Linked DNA regions of Homo sapiens: region 2 is linked to region 1. The links are contacts of gene promoters, found by promoter capture Hi-C in blood cells and fetal thymus (Javierre and others, 2016). All regions are on one chromosome and are shown on one strand. The core of a region is centred on a gene start or on the middle of the fragment in contact, and the rest is flanking DNA. Distances in the headings are between cores, read along the strand shown.

What was found. Contacts are between HindIII fragments. The CHiCAGO score rates a contact against its expected background, and 5 or more counts as called.
Region 2: a contact is called between a fragment that was not itself captured here and the fragment with the promoter of ARHGAP31-AS1 in region 1, in 1 of 17 cell types (non-activated CD4 T cells). The highest score is 5.1, in non-activated CD4 T cells.

What each region holds. Positions count from the first base shown.
Region 1 is chr3:119,320,560-119,326,460 of GRCh38, forward strand. ARHGAP31-AS1 (ARHGAP31 antisense RNA 1) reads right to left here and starts at 2,201. Exons shown (of 2, transcript NR_046748.1): 1 at 2,055-2,201. The region is part of intron 1 of ARHGAP31 (Rho GTPase activating protein 31); the gene reads left to right. RefSeq lists enhancers at 1,872-2,729, 2,730-3,586 and silencers at 2,149-2,508, 2,559-2,908. The HindIII fragment of the contact is 4,466 bases long and covers 1-3,982 here.
Region 2 is chr3:120,097,430-120,103,142 of GRCh38, forward strand. All of the region lies in intron 1 of GSK3B-DT (GSK3B divergent transcript), which reads left to right. Among named protein-coding and RNA genes, the nearest start is that of GSK3B-DT, 5.2 kb to the left of the region's middle. The HindIII fragment of the contact is 4,151 bases long and covers 699-4,849 here.

The DNA.
Region 1 (5,901 bases), core at 951-3,450:
GTAACCTTACCCATTACTCCCTTACCTCCTATCTTAAATAATGTTTGAGTGTATTCTTCCCTTTGCCATTAAAAGTTCCATTACTTCTGCCCACAAACCAGCAAGTCCTCACCAATCAAGAATCAGCTGCGATCTCATCATTTTCTTTTTGTGTATTCTAAAACTCAGATGTTTTCTCTCCTCTGGCCTACTGTGGCATGCCCTTCCCTTTCACTAATATCTTGGACATTGATATGGTTTGGCTGTATCCCCACCCAAATCTCATCTTGAATTCCCACGTGTTGTGGGAGGGACCTGGTGGGAGGTAATTGAATCATGGGGCCAGGCCTTTCTCGGGCTGTTCTTGTGATAGTGAGTAAGTCTCACGAGATCTGATGGTTTTGAAAAACGGGAGTCTCCTTGCAAAAGCTCTCTCTTCTCTTGAGTGCCTTTAATCTTCCACCATGACTTGTGGCCTCCCCAGCCATGTGGAACTGCAAGTTCATTAAACCTCTTTCTTTTGTAAATTGCCCAGTCTCCAGTATGTCTTTATCAGCAGTGTGAAAACGAACTAATACAGATGTATAAACATTGACCCATCCTCTTTAACTTCCATATACCCTTTTTAAATTGCAGAAAAATCATTCAATTAGTGGAAAAATTGCTCAAGTAAATTTTATCATCTTTCACCCAGGCCCGGTGATTTCCTATTCAGCAGCAATTTCACATATATATATATACTATATATATATATATAGTATATATATATGTATTATGTATATATAATTATATACTATATATGTAAAATTTTAAAATCAATGTTTTCATACTTTTTAATAATACATGCTTATCCTCATTGTAGATAAATTGGGAAATACATAAATGTTTTAGAAAGAAAAAAATACTTGTATGTAATTCTATCACCCAAAGATGTAACATTTTGGTGGATTTCCTTCAAGTGTTTTTTTTCTATGTACATTTTCATATTGTGATTACACTGTGTGTGTGTATATATATATTATATATATATATGATTTTGTGTCTTGCTTTCTTATAACCGAAGTCTTTATTCAAGTTATAAAACCCTACATATAACATTTTAAGGCTCCGTAGGTTTTGTTTTGTTTTGAGACGGAGACTCGCTCTGTTGCCCAGGCCAGAGTGCAGTGTCACGATCTCAGCTCATTGAAGCCTCTACCTCTCGGGCTCAAGTGATTTTCCTGCTTCAGCCTCCCAAGTAGCTGGAACTATAGGCCCACACCACCACGCCCAGCTAACTTGTTTTTGTATTTTTAGTGGAGACGGGGTTTCGCCATGTTGGCCAGGCTGGTCTTGAACTTCTGACCTCGGGTGATCTGCCCGCCTCAGCCTCCCAAAGTGCTGGGATTACAGGCGTGAGCCACCACGCCCGGCCCATAGTAGTTTATCATATAAATATGCCAGTTTATTCCCTGCCTCCATTACTGGACATTTATAGTTATGATTGTTTTAATTTTATGAACAAGCCCACAGTGAATATTGTGAGGCATATGGCTCTTTTGTTATGTAATATTTCTTTGGAATAAACTCCCAGAAGTAAAATTGCTGGATTAAAAGGTGTGTTATTAGTCAGAACTCTCTTGGTTGTGACTGAAGGAACTCTGACATAAGAAAAAAAGTGGGGGTTAATTACTGATTCATAGAAGCAAACTTTGGCAAAGACAAGAAGGGAGCTGGCTTTAGGGAGCTGGGACCAGAGGCTGGAATTTTAACCTCCTGACTTTCTCCTTGTCTCTTGAATTTATCTTAGACATAAATGAAAATAGAGGTAACTCAAAGCGTCTAACCCACAGTGACAATTGCTGCTCTGTTTTTAGAGCCGGGATTTTGTTCGTGGACTTGCCTTGCCTGGTGGTTGAACTTTGCAGCCCCTTCCTCCTCCGGGCAGCTTCTCTCAGTGGCAGCTGTGTTCCCCATGGTTTGTCCTGGATGTCTCCCTTGTGCCATCCTTGCAAGCCCGCGGCCAGCGCCTCCACCCACGCTCCGGCCTTGCTCCCACTCCCACCGCTCTGCCACCTCCCACCTCAGCCTCCCACCTTGGTGTGGAGGGACCAGCGTCGAAGACAAAGGAATCTCTGACGAGAACCGGCCAGTCCGGGAGGGACGGCGGGGAAGGGGGTGCTGCTCTGGCGGAGCCCTCACTTCACTCGCTTCCCCTCGAGCGCCCCTCTAGGCTGGGGCCCGGCCGCTCTGGGCCTGCTCCTCCTCCCGCTCCTGTTGCGGGGCACCAGGTCAGACCCTACAGGGGGCTCCGCCAGGGGGAGGGGGAGAGGGGCTCCCTTCAAACTCGGCCCGGCCGCGGGGGTCCCGGGTGCCCTCTGCTGGGCTCCTTCCACGTCCTTGTCCCTCCTGAACTCCCGTTCCAGCCCTGCCCCCGCCCCGCAGTAGGGAACGGACTCGTTTCTGCCCCGCCCCGGGGTCCGGGCGCCCGCCCGGCGCTTCAGCTTCAGCAACGTCAAGGCCACGTTCCCTCCGCTCCAGCTCGAAAGACGGTGGCGCTGACTCTGCTCTGCGCGCCGCAGCTTCCTCCCGCTGCTCCGCCCAGCGGTTTCTGATCCCCTTTCGGCGCTGGGGACTCACACGCTGCGGCGACAGGAAAGCCCGCGCCCCCGGCCGCTTCCCGGAACGCCCTCGGGGACGGCTGAGTCACTTGGCGCCCGCCCGCGCGGCCACCGAGCCCAGAAGCGGGGAAAGCCCAGAAGCGGGGAAACCCCAGGGACAGCCGCCGGCCCTGGGGGCAGCCAGCGCTCCAGGCCGCCCAGCACCTCGGGCCCGGATGGGCTTCTCGCGCCCCAGGGCTGCGGCCACACCCCGCCGGCCCAGACCCCGCGGGTAGAGAAAGGAGGTGCAACCCTGAGAGCCAAGACGTTGGGCTTGGCTTTGCTTTGCGTTTCTTTCCTTTTTTCTTTTGTTTCTTTTCTTCTTCTTTTTTTTTTAACCACATCCAGGAAGAGGAGAAACCTGTCTCATGACAGGAAACGAAGAGGGAGGATGCATCCGAACTGAGGGACATTGTTTCAGTTGCCTCACCTGACATACTGTCTCACCTGAGAGAGGGAGGCCGAAGAGGCAGCCAATGGTGGCTGGAGCAAGCCCTGTCCTCGTTACCTGGGCTGTGGCTGAGCCCTGGGGCTCACCGGCTGTATGGCCCTGGGCAAGTCCTCGGAGCCTTAGGTTCTCTGCAAAATGGAGATGATGTTTAATAGAAAATGTTTCTATAACTTTTGTGGCTTACTTTTTGAAAAGCGAGGGAGGGACTTTTGTCCTTCCCTCCTCGCATCTCAGTCGCAGTGCTGGTTCACAATCAGGCTGTTAACGCGGTTTCCACATTTCCTGTCCTCCCCCTTCCCCTTTCCTGCTGGGAATAAGAAGGTGGGCCCCCAAGGAGACAGAGGGTACACTCGTAAATGAAAAAGAAAAGTCAGCACAAGGACCCTTTGCTGCGGAGATTTCTTTTTCCAGGTATCCTAAGTGGGGCTCTTGCCATCCCTGCCATCCCTGCTCTACACCGAAGGGGTGAAGTCCTGGGACTCTGTTATGCCCATCTGTATGTAATCCTAGGCAAGATTATTACAGTAGCGCTTTCCTCTTTTTAGAATATACCCTTGTCTAGCCCCTACCCCATCTTCAGGACAGTAAAGGTTCTCAACTCACTTCAAACCCTCCTAGCCGTCTAGAACAGTGGCTCACAACCGCAGACCCATAGGAAATGTAGGGCCATCTATGTAATAAATTTATCCGGATGTATTATAACAATTTTAAGGTTACACTTGTCCTTTCTTGAACAGGACAATTCTTTATTCTAAGACTATATGCTTCATAGTTTTAGTTATTTTGAATTGTCCATTCTGTTATGAAATACGATAGTTATTGTTGGTTGATGTCCTCTCTCAGAAAAATAAAAAATTAGCAGTCCTAGGTAGATCCCCCAAAATCTTTTAAACTTGATCTGTGAAATCCAAAAAGCTTGGGTACCATTGCTGTATTCCACATGTGGTTCACATCAAGGTTCCTTGTCCCTCCCAAGGAGATTTGTAGCTATTAAAAGAAACAAACAAACAAACATAAACAACAAAAACCCTTTCGAGAATCAGATCCTCAAAGAATGTTTAAGGATAGACGTGGAAAAACAAAGAGTGGGGAGAGGAGTCTTTCTCTACTCTCAACCCCTAGCCCTTAGTGTAGGTGAAGGCAGCACAGTTGTATCTATTCTAACTGGTATTTAGTATTGAGCATAACTTTTAATGGACGACTCCTTTTAGTAAAACAGAGAACCAATTTTGAATAAACCAAGGTCTCTTGGTCTCTCAGTTTGCAGATCAGCGGAATGGCTAAATGAAGGTGCTATACTTTACTTAAAAGGTGAAAATGTGTCATTTGGGTAAGCAATAAGCAGTACTCCTCATGTCAATAGTGGCATAGTGTGGACTTATATGATGCCGTCTTAAATTAGGCCTCATTGGTTAATGTTTATTGAACACTCTCAGTGTGTTTGGTGCTAATTAAAATATCTTCAAGTCACAGAATCACTGCCTTCTAGTAACTAGTGATGCAGCAAGCTGTAACTGTTGAATCATACCTACCTATATCAACACAGATACTACACATGCATATTCATCTTTTTTGGATGCTAAGATAAAATTTTGCTTAAAATTCTTACTTAGTTGTGTGGGAAGTAGGGGAAAGGAAGATTTTTAAATTTGAAATGGTTGTCCTAGGATAGGAAACCATCGCAGCTGTCATGCACATTAATATTTTAGAAACACATTCACATATCATCTCTGTTGATCTTCCCAAGACGCTGTGACTCTACAGGCTGATTTCAGAGATGTTGTTCCCCCTTTACAGGCAACATATTTTAGTGGCTTGCCCAAGGAGGCTTACCTAAGGCCACACTGCTGGGTCGGGAGTCTGCCCTGGGTCTGCCTCTTCCCACTCACACTGTTGCAGTCCTGTATTCTGGGAAGGCCTCTATGGGCCAGTCCCAGAGCCTTTGAACCAGGGGAGAAAGGGTGGAGGGGAAGCTAGCTTCTCCTAGTTCTGTATACCCAAGAATCCACCTGGTGGGGATGGCGGGGGTTGGGGGGGAAGGGGGGGACGGAAATGACTTAGCCTGAAGGCAGGCTGTTTGACAGCTAGGGCAAAACAGTGGCGAGAAGAAACTCAGGGAAAGGAGAGAGGAGCTACCAGTAATTTTCAAACTTCGCTTAATATTAGAATCACCTGGGAAGTTTTTAAAAATTTTTTTTGATGCCTAGCTGTCACCCATACTGATTAAATCAGAATCTCTGAAGGTGGAACTAGGCATTGGTATTTTTAAAAGCTTCCCAGGGCTGGGCACGGTGGCTCACGCCTGTAATCCCAGCATTTTGGGAGGCTGAGGCGGGTGGATCACCTAGGGTCAGGAGTTCAACACCACCCTGGCCAACATGGTGAAACCCGGTCTCTACTAAAAATGCAAAACATTAGCCGGGCGTGGTGGTGGGCGCCTGTAATCCCAGCTACTCAGGAGGCTGAGGCAGGAGAATCACTTGAACCCAGGAGGCGGAGGTTGCAGTGAGCTGAGATCATGTCATTGCACTCCAGCCTGGGCAACAAGAGCAAAACTCTGTCTCAAAAATAAAAGTAATAATAATAATAAAAAGATTCCCAGGGTTTTAGAGTGTGTAGGCACATTTGAAGACAAGTGGCCTACAGCGATGCTCAGATTTTTGTGTGCATTTTCAATCACCTGTGGATCTTGTTAAAATTAGGGTCTGGTACAGTCAGCTGAGAATGTGTCGTGCTACTGTACAGATCCAGAAAAAGGAAACACTGGGTGCTCGGTGGTCAGGAAGAGTTTTGTGAAGGAGAACAAGTCTGGGTGGGCTTTGGACATTGTGT
Region 2 (5,713 bases), core at 1,524-4,023, 780 kb after region 1:
AAAAGGTTATGCAATGGCTGAAATGTTTAACAAGGTATTTGGAGACCTTGAGATAGTTTGAAATTATGTAATGTCTAAGATGTGGGCCAAGAGAAAATAAAGGAAAATATCACAGGATAATAGAGGAGTAAAGTAAACTATGCTGTATTAACTCCATATTAGGCAGCCAGTAAAAATAAATACAACCACCAAAAGTAACTCAGAAATATGTTTAGGAAACAATACTAATTGAAAAATATAGAACTTCAGGTTGTATATCTACCATATTTCCAATCTGTAAAATATAAGTACATTTGGATCAAGATTGGAAAGGAAGACAAATTAGAATAACTCGTCAATAACATATTTAAATATAAATGAAAATATTTAAATGTCTTTGCTTAGTATTTTTATAATAAATTTCTATTTTTTTACTTTTATTTATCTTTTAATCTCACTGTTATCCAGGATGGAGTGCAGTAGCACAGTCATAGCTCACTATGGCCTTGAACTTCTGGGCTCAAGCAGTCCTCCCACCTCAGCCTCCTAAGTAGCTGGGATTACAGGTGTAAGCCACTGTACCCCACCTCTGTGTTTGATTTTAAGGGGAATTGGCCCAAAAAATAACATTTATATTATTTCTTCACTATGATTCACATGTCCCTCAGAAGCCTCTAATTACAATGGAATTCTTAAAAAAAATTCACATTTCTCAGCAAAGCTTTCCAACGAAAATTTTTATGATAATCCTTTGTCATATAAGTTAAAATAGTAAAACTAGACAATAGTGAGTAAGTATTATATTTGAGACACCTGCTAGGCATCTGATATAAGGTGGATGAGAGGATCAGTGTCCTTTGGGAGTTTACCCTCTAGGGAAGCAACTACATGAAAAGTTAAATAAATTATAAAAATCACATTTTGAATTGATAAAAGTTATGAGACAGAACATAATTTGGTTTTTATTTATTTTTTTGAGACAGGGTCTCACTTTGTCCTCCAGGCTGGAGTGCTGCGGCCTCAACCTCCCAGGTTCAAGGGATCCTGCTGCCTCAGCCCCCCAAGTAGCTAGGACTACAAGGGTGCACCACCACACCCAGCTAATTTTTGTATTTTTTGTATAAATGGGGTTTCGCCATGTTGCCCAGACTGGTCTCAAACTCCTGGGCTCAAAATCTGCGTGCCATGGCTTCTCAAAACGCTAGGATTACTGGCGTGAGTCACCATGCCTGGCCTATAATTTGTTAATATGGTTGTTACTACAAAGTTTAAAATAAATTGCCCATGCATTCCTATTTATAATAGGTGAGTGGAGGACACTTCAATCTAAAGTGATCTTAAAGGAGGAGTAGTAGGATTTGAAGATGAAGAAAGAAGAGGGGAGGTAAATTACTTTCCATCACTTCAATTTCAACCCATCAGATAAAACCTCTCTTTAGTAAACCTGCATGTGGGTGGAGCTGTAACAGCAATTAAGGACAGTGTGACTCTGTTCTTCTGACTTTGGGAAAACCAGTTTGGCTGGAACAAAAAGCTGATAGAGAAGACTAATGGAAGATAAGGTTGAAAAGGTAGGTTTGAGGGAGCTTTGTTACAGGAAAAAAAAAAAAAAAAAACTGGGCTTTGTCCTGTAGACAGTGGAGAGGTACTTTAGCAGATGTAAGACATTACCATTATAGGAAAGCCTCTGAAGTAACATACACTGTGGTTTTTCCTGTTGCTGAAAATATGCCCAGAGTAACAAGATGTGGCATAGTTGGTTATGTGTCTTATAACCAGTGAGGTGTGCCCAAATGGGAAATTAATGAATGACTACCCAAAAAGAAGAGGGAGAGTGTTTGAAACACTGTCACTGTGAAATAGACTGGTTGTATGAAAAGTTGCATATCAAGCCTTTGGCAAATTATATAAATACTCTGATTTTGACATCTTAAAGGAGTATACTATAGAAAATAAAAGAAAAACACTTGAATCTGTTACAGGAAACGGGTCATGATCCAGACCCCAGGAGAGGGTTCTTGGATCTCACACAAGAAAGAATTCAGGGTGACCCCACAGTGCAAAAGTCAAAGCAAGTATTAAGAAAATGAAGGAATAACAGAATGGCTACTACATAGAGCAGCCCTGAGGGCTGCTGGTTGCCCTTTTTTTTTTTTCCTTTGAGATGGAGTTTTCGTTCTTGTTGCCCAGGCTGGAGTGCAATGGCGTGATCTCGGCTCACCACAACCTCCACCTCCCAGGTTCAAGCAATTCTGCCTCAGCCTCCCGAGTAGCTGAGATTACAGGCATGCGCCACCACGCCCGGCTAATTTTGTGTTTTTAGTAGAGTGAGGGTTTCTCCATGTTGGTCAGGTTGGTCTTGAACTTCCGACCTCAGTTGATCTGCCCGCCTTGGCCTCCCAAAGTACTGGGATTACAGGCATAAGCCACCGCACCTGGCCTGGTTGCCCATTCTTTATGGTCGTTTCTTGATGATATGCTAACCAAGGAGTGGATTAATCATGCCTCCCCTTTTTGGACCACATAGGGTCTAAACTGTCATGGCACATTTGTAAACTGTCATGGCACTGGTGGGAGTGTAGCAGTGAGGACGACCAGAGGTCACTCTCGTCGCCATTTTGGTTTTGGTGGGTTTTGGCCAGCTCCTTTACTGCAACCTGTTTTATCAGCAAGGTCTTTAAGACCTGTATTTTGTGCTGACCTCCTATCTCATCCTGTGACTTAGAATGCCTTAACTGACCATCTGGGAATGCAGCCCAATAGATTTCACCCTCATTTTGCCCGGCTCCTGTTTAAGATGGAGTTGCTCTGGTTCACATGCCTCTAACAAATCCTTTTAGTTTTTCATGCTTGTCACATGTTTACTTCTAAGGGTATAATCATGTGGTTTACTATATTATTACCGATTAGATTATTTTGAACTACTTCAATTTTATTTATTTTACCTCATTTCCATTCACATTTTTTGAAAAGAGCTTTTTTATACAAGAGTGTAAATATTTTCACATTGAATAAATGAATTGAAAACAGTATGTGTTGATTGAATACTTGAAGTATACTTCTTTACAGCAAATTCTAGGAATTCAGCTTTGTTTTATGTGCATTAAAATGTAATAAATATAGGCCTGAGAAATTCTCAGAACAAATATTTTAGGCCCTCAGTAGCTGTAAATCGGGAACGGTCAGATTTCCTTCACATGGAAATGGGACTCACATCTCTCAGAATGGAACAGAAGTCTTTTGGTCTTTAATCTATGTCATGTTGATGGGAAATGTGAAAGCTACAAGAAAATTGGTATTTGGTTTCTTGGATATTGAATATCCTTGGCCAGGGGTGCAGGGAAGTGAAAAAAAAGTAAGACCTCCTATGGATCATCCAAAAAGGAATTTCAGAATGCAGAGAGGACTGGTCTCCCTTAATCAGGCCAAAACTTTATTTGAATTGTATCAGGATGCTTCATTCCTGTGCCCTGTAGGATGGAATCTTGAAAGAAAATGGGAAGGAATGTACAAAGCCTCAAGGAATGTGTTTCTCTGTAACATCTAGATCAGACAGTAGTATGAAGTGCCAGATATGAAACCAGAAAGGATCCTTATGAGAGTTTATAGCTCAGTTTTAAGATGTTTTACTATCTCTGCTGTCTTATTTTTTTATTTTTATTTTTAGAGATGGGGTCTCGCTCTGCTGCCCAGGCTGGAGTGCAGTGGTGTGATCATAGCTCACTGCAACCTCAAACTCCTGGGCTCAGGTCAACCCTCCTGCCTCAGCCATGCCCTGCCACTGCCCCCTTCCCCCGCAGTAGCTGGGGCTACAAGTGCATGCCACCACACCCAGCTATTTTAATTACTTTGTAGAGACAGGGTCTTGCCATGTTGTCCAGGCTGGTGCTGTTGTTCTTTATTTTTACAATGTATATTGTGTATGCACTAGTAGTGTTCAGTACTTGAAGATAAAAGTAGTAATTTAGGAAAAATAACCATTATTCCCCTAACTAAATCTTGCTACTCTTAGGACCAGTTAGGAGTCTTAGGAAAATATCAACTCTGATTGTTTTTTCTTTTCTGTTTGTTTGTTTTTATTGTTGTTGTTATTGTTTAGATAATTTGTTGCTCTGTCACCCAGGCTGGAGTGCAGATGTGTGATCATGGCTCACTGCAGCCTACCTCCAGGGATAAAGCAATCCTCCCGCCTTAGCCTCCCAAGTAGCTGGGACTTACAGGCACACAACTGACCTAGCTAATTTTTTTATTTTTGTAAAGGCAGAGGTCTTCCTACGTTGTCCAGACTGGTCTTGAACTCCTGGCCTCAAGCAATCCTCCCACCTTGGCCCCCAGAGTGCTGGGATTACAGGTGTGAGCCACTATACCCAGTCTGGTTTTTTTTCTTTTTTTTTTTTTTTTTTTTTTTTTTGAGGACTCAACATGTCCGAGACAGTTGAGTACACTTCTACTTTCTCTAACCACTTCTTGACAATTTGAATACAGTTTTCATTTTTAGTCTTCTTATCAAAAGTGTTCCAATTGTACTTTTTATCCTTAAGGACTTTAAATATGATTATATAGAATTTCATAAATTTTGCTGGCCTGTGTTGGACAACACATGAAAAGACACGAATATCCTAATTCCACCAGGAAGTGCTTGTTGTCTACTGTGTGCCCAGGTCTGTGCCACATATGGTGGGAAACATTTGCTTGCAACAAATTGAGAAAACTGCTGTATATGCTTTAAAACCTAACTGGTTTATTCAACTGCATTTTAAAAATATTTCCAAGGCCAAAGGCTCTTGGACCCTTTTAGAATTAAAAACAAATATCTTACACAGCCATATCAGCTGGAACTCTGAGGAAGCAAACTATCCTATGGAGGTTAAGCTTTTAATCTGGCATGAGAGGAGTTAAAGTGAAGTACTTCTAAGCACCAGAGAAACCATCTAGTGGGAAAAAAAGAATTCATCAACAGGGAGTTGCCAAATGAGGACACGCACATGCTTTGCCTTCATTATCTAACTTTCTTCCAGTATAAATAGAATTACATGGAGGTGTAAGGCATTTCTCTTGATCTCAGTCAATGCTGTGCACATCGTGGGAACTCAGTAAATGTTGGCAAAATGAGTAGTGTGATTGTAATTGAAAAAGCGAAACAATTATAACCATCAAAATTACAACTTTATAAAATATCTGCATATGGACAAGCACTCTGAGAAAATACTCCCCCCAAAAAAGTTGTTTTATTAATTTTTTAGTTTTCTGAATTTTTTCTTACATTAATTTTTTTCCTATTATCGGTTCTACAATATAATTTGAGTATCAAAATTTCTTAATTAGATGCATTCAAATAGAATCACAGCTTGGGGCAAGTCTCCGTTCACCACCAGGCTTCAAACATGTCATGGCATATCTGGCAAATTGGTAGTTTCAGGCTGCCAAGAGGTGATTTACATAAGGGTTTTGGTGGAAAGACTGCCAAGAAGTGTGGATGACAGAGAGGTGGGGGTTGGCCAGACTGCTTTTCAGTCAATTTGCACAGCTACAGTGCACCAGCCAGTGTTCCAGTTGGTCAGTGCCCATGCCATGCCAGCTGTTAATCCTTGGATTGAGGGAATGACACCTTACCTATCTTGAAGATTCATATTCCAATACAGCCTCGTGGAGTCCACTAGGAAAGTACCAAGAGCAGAAATAGGAGTGCACTAAAATCATTACTACATCACACAACATAATCAAAAGATGAGGG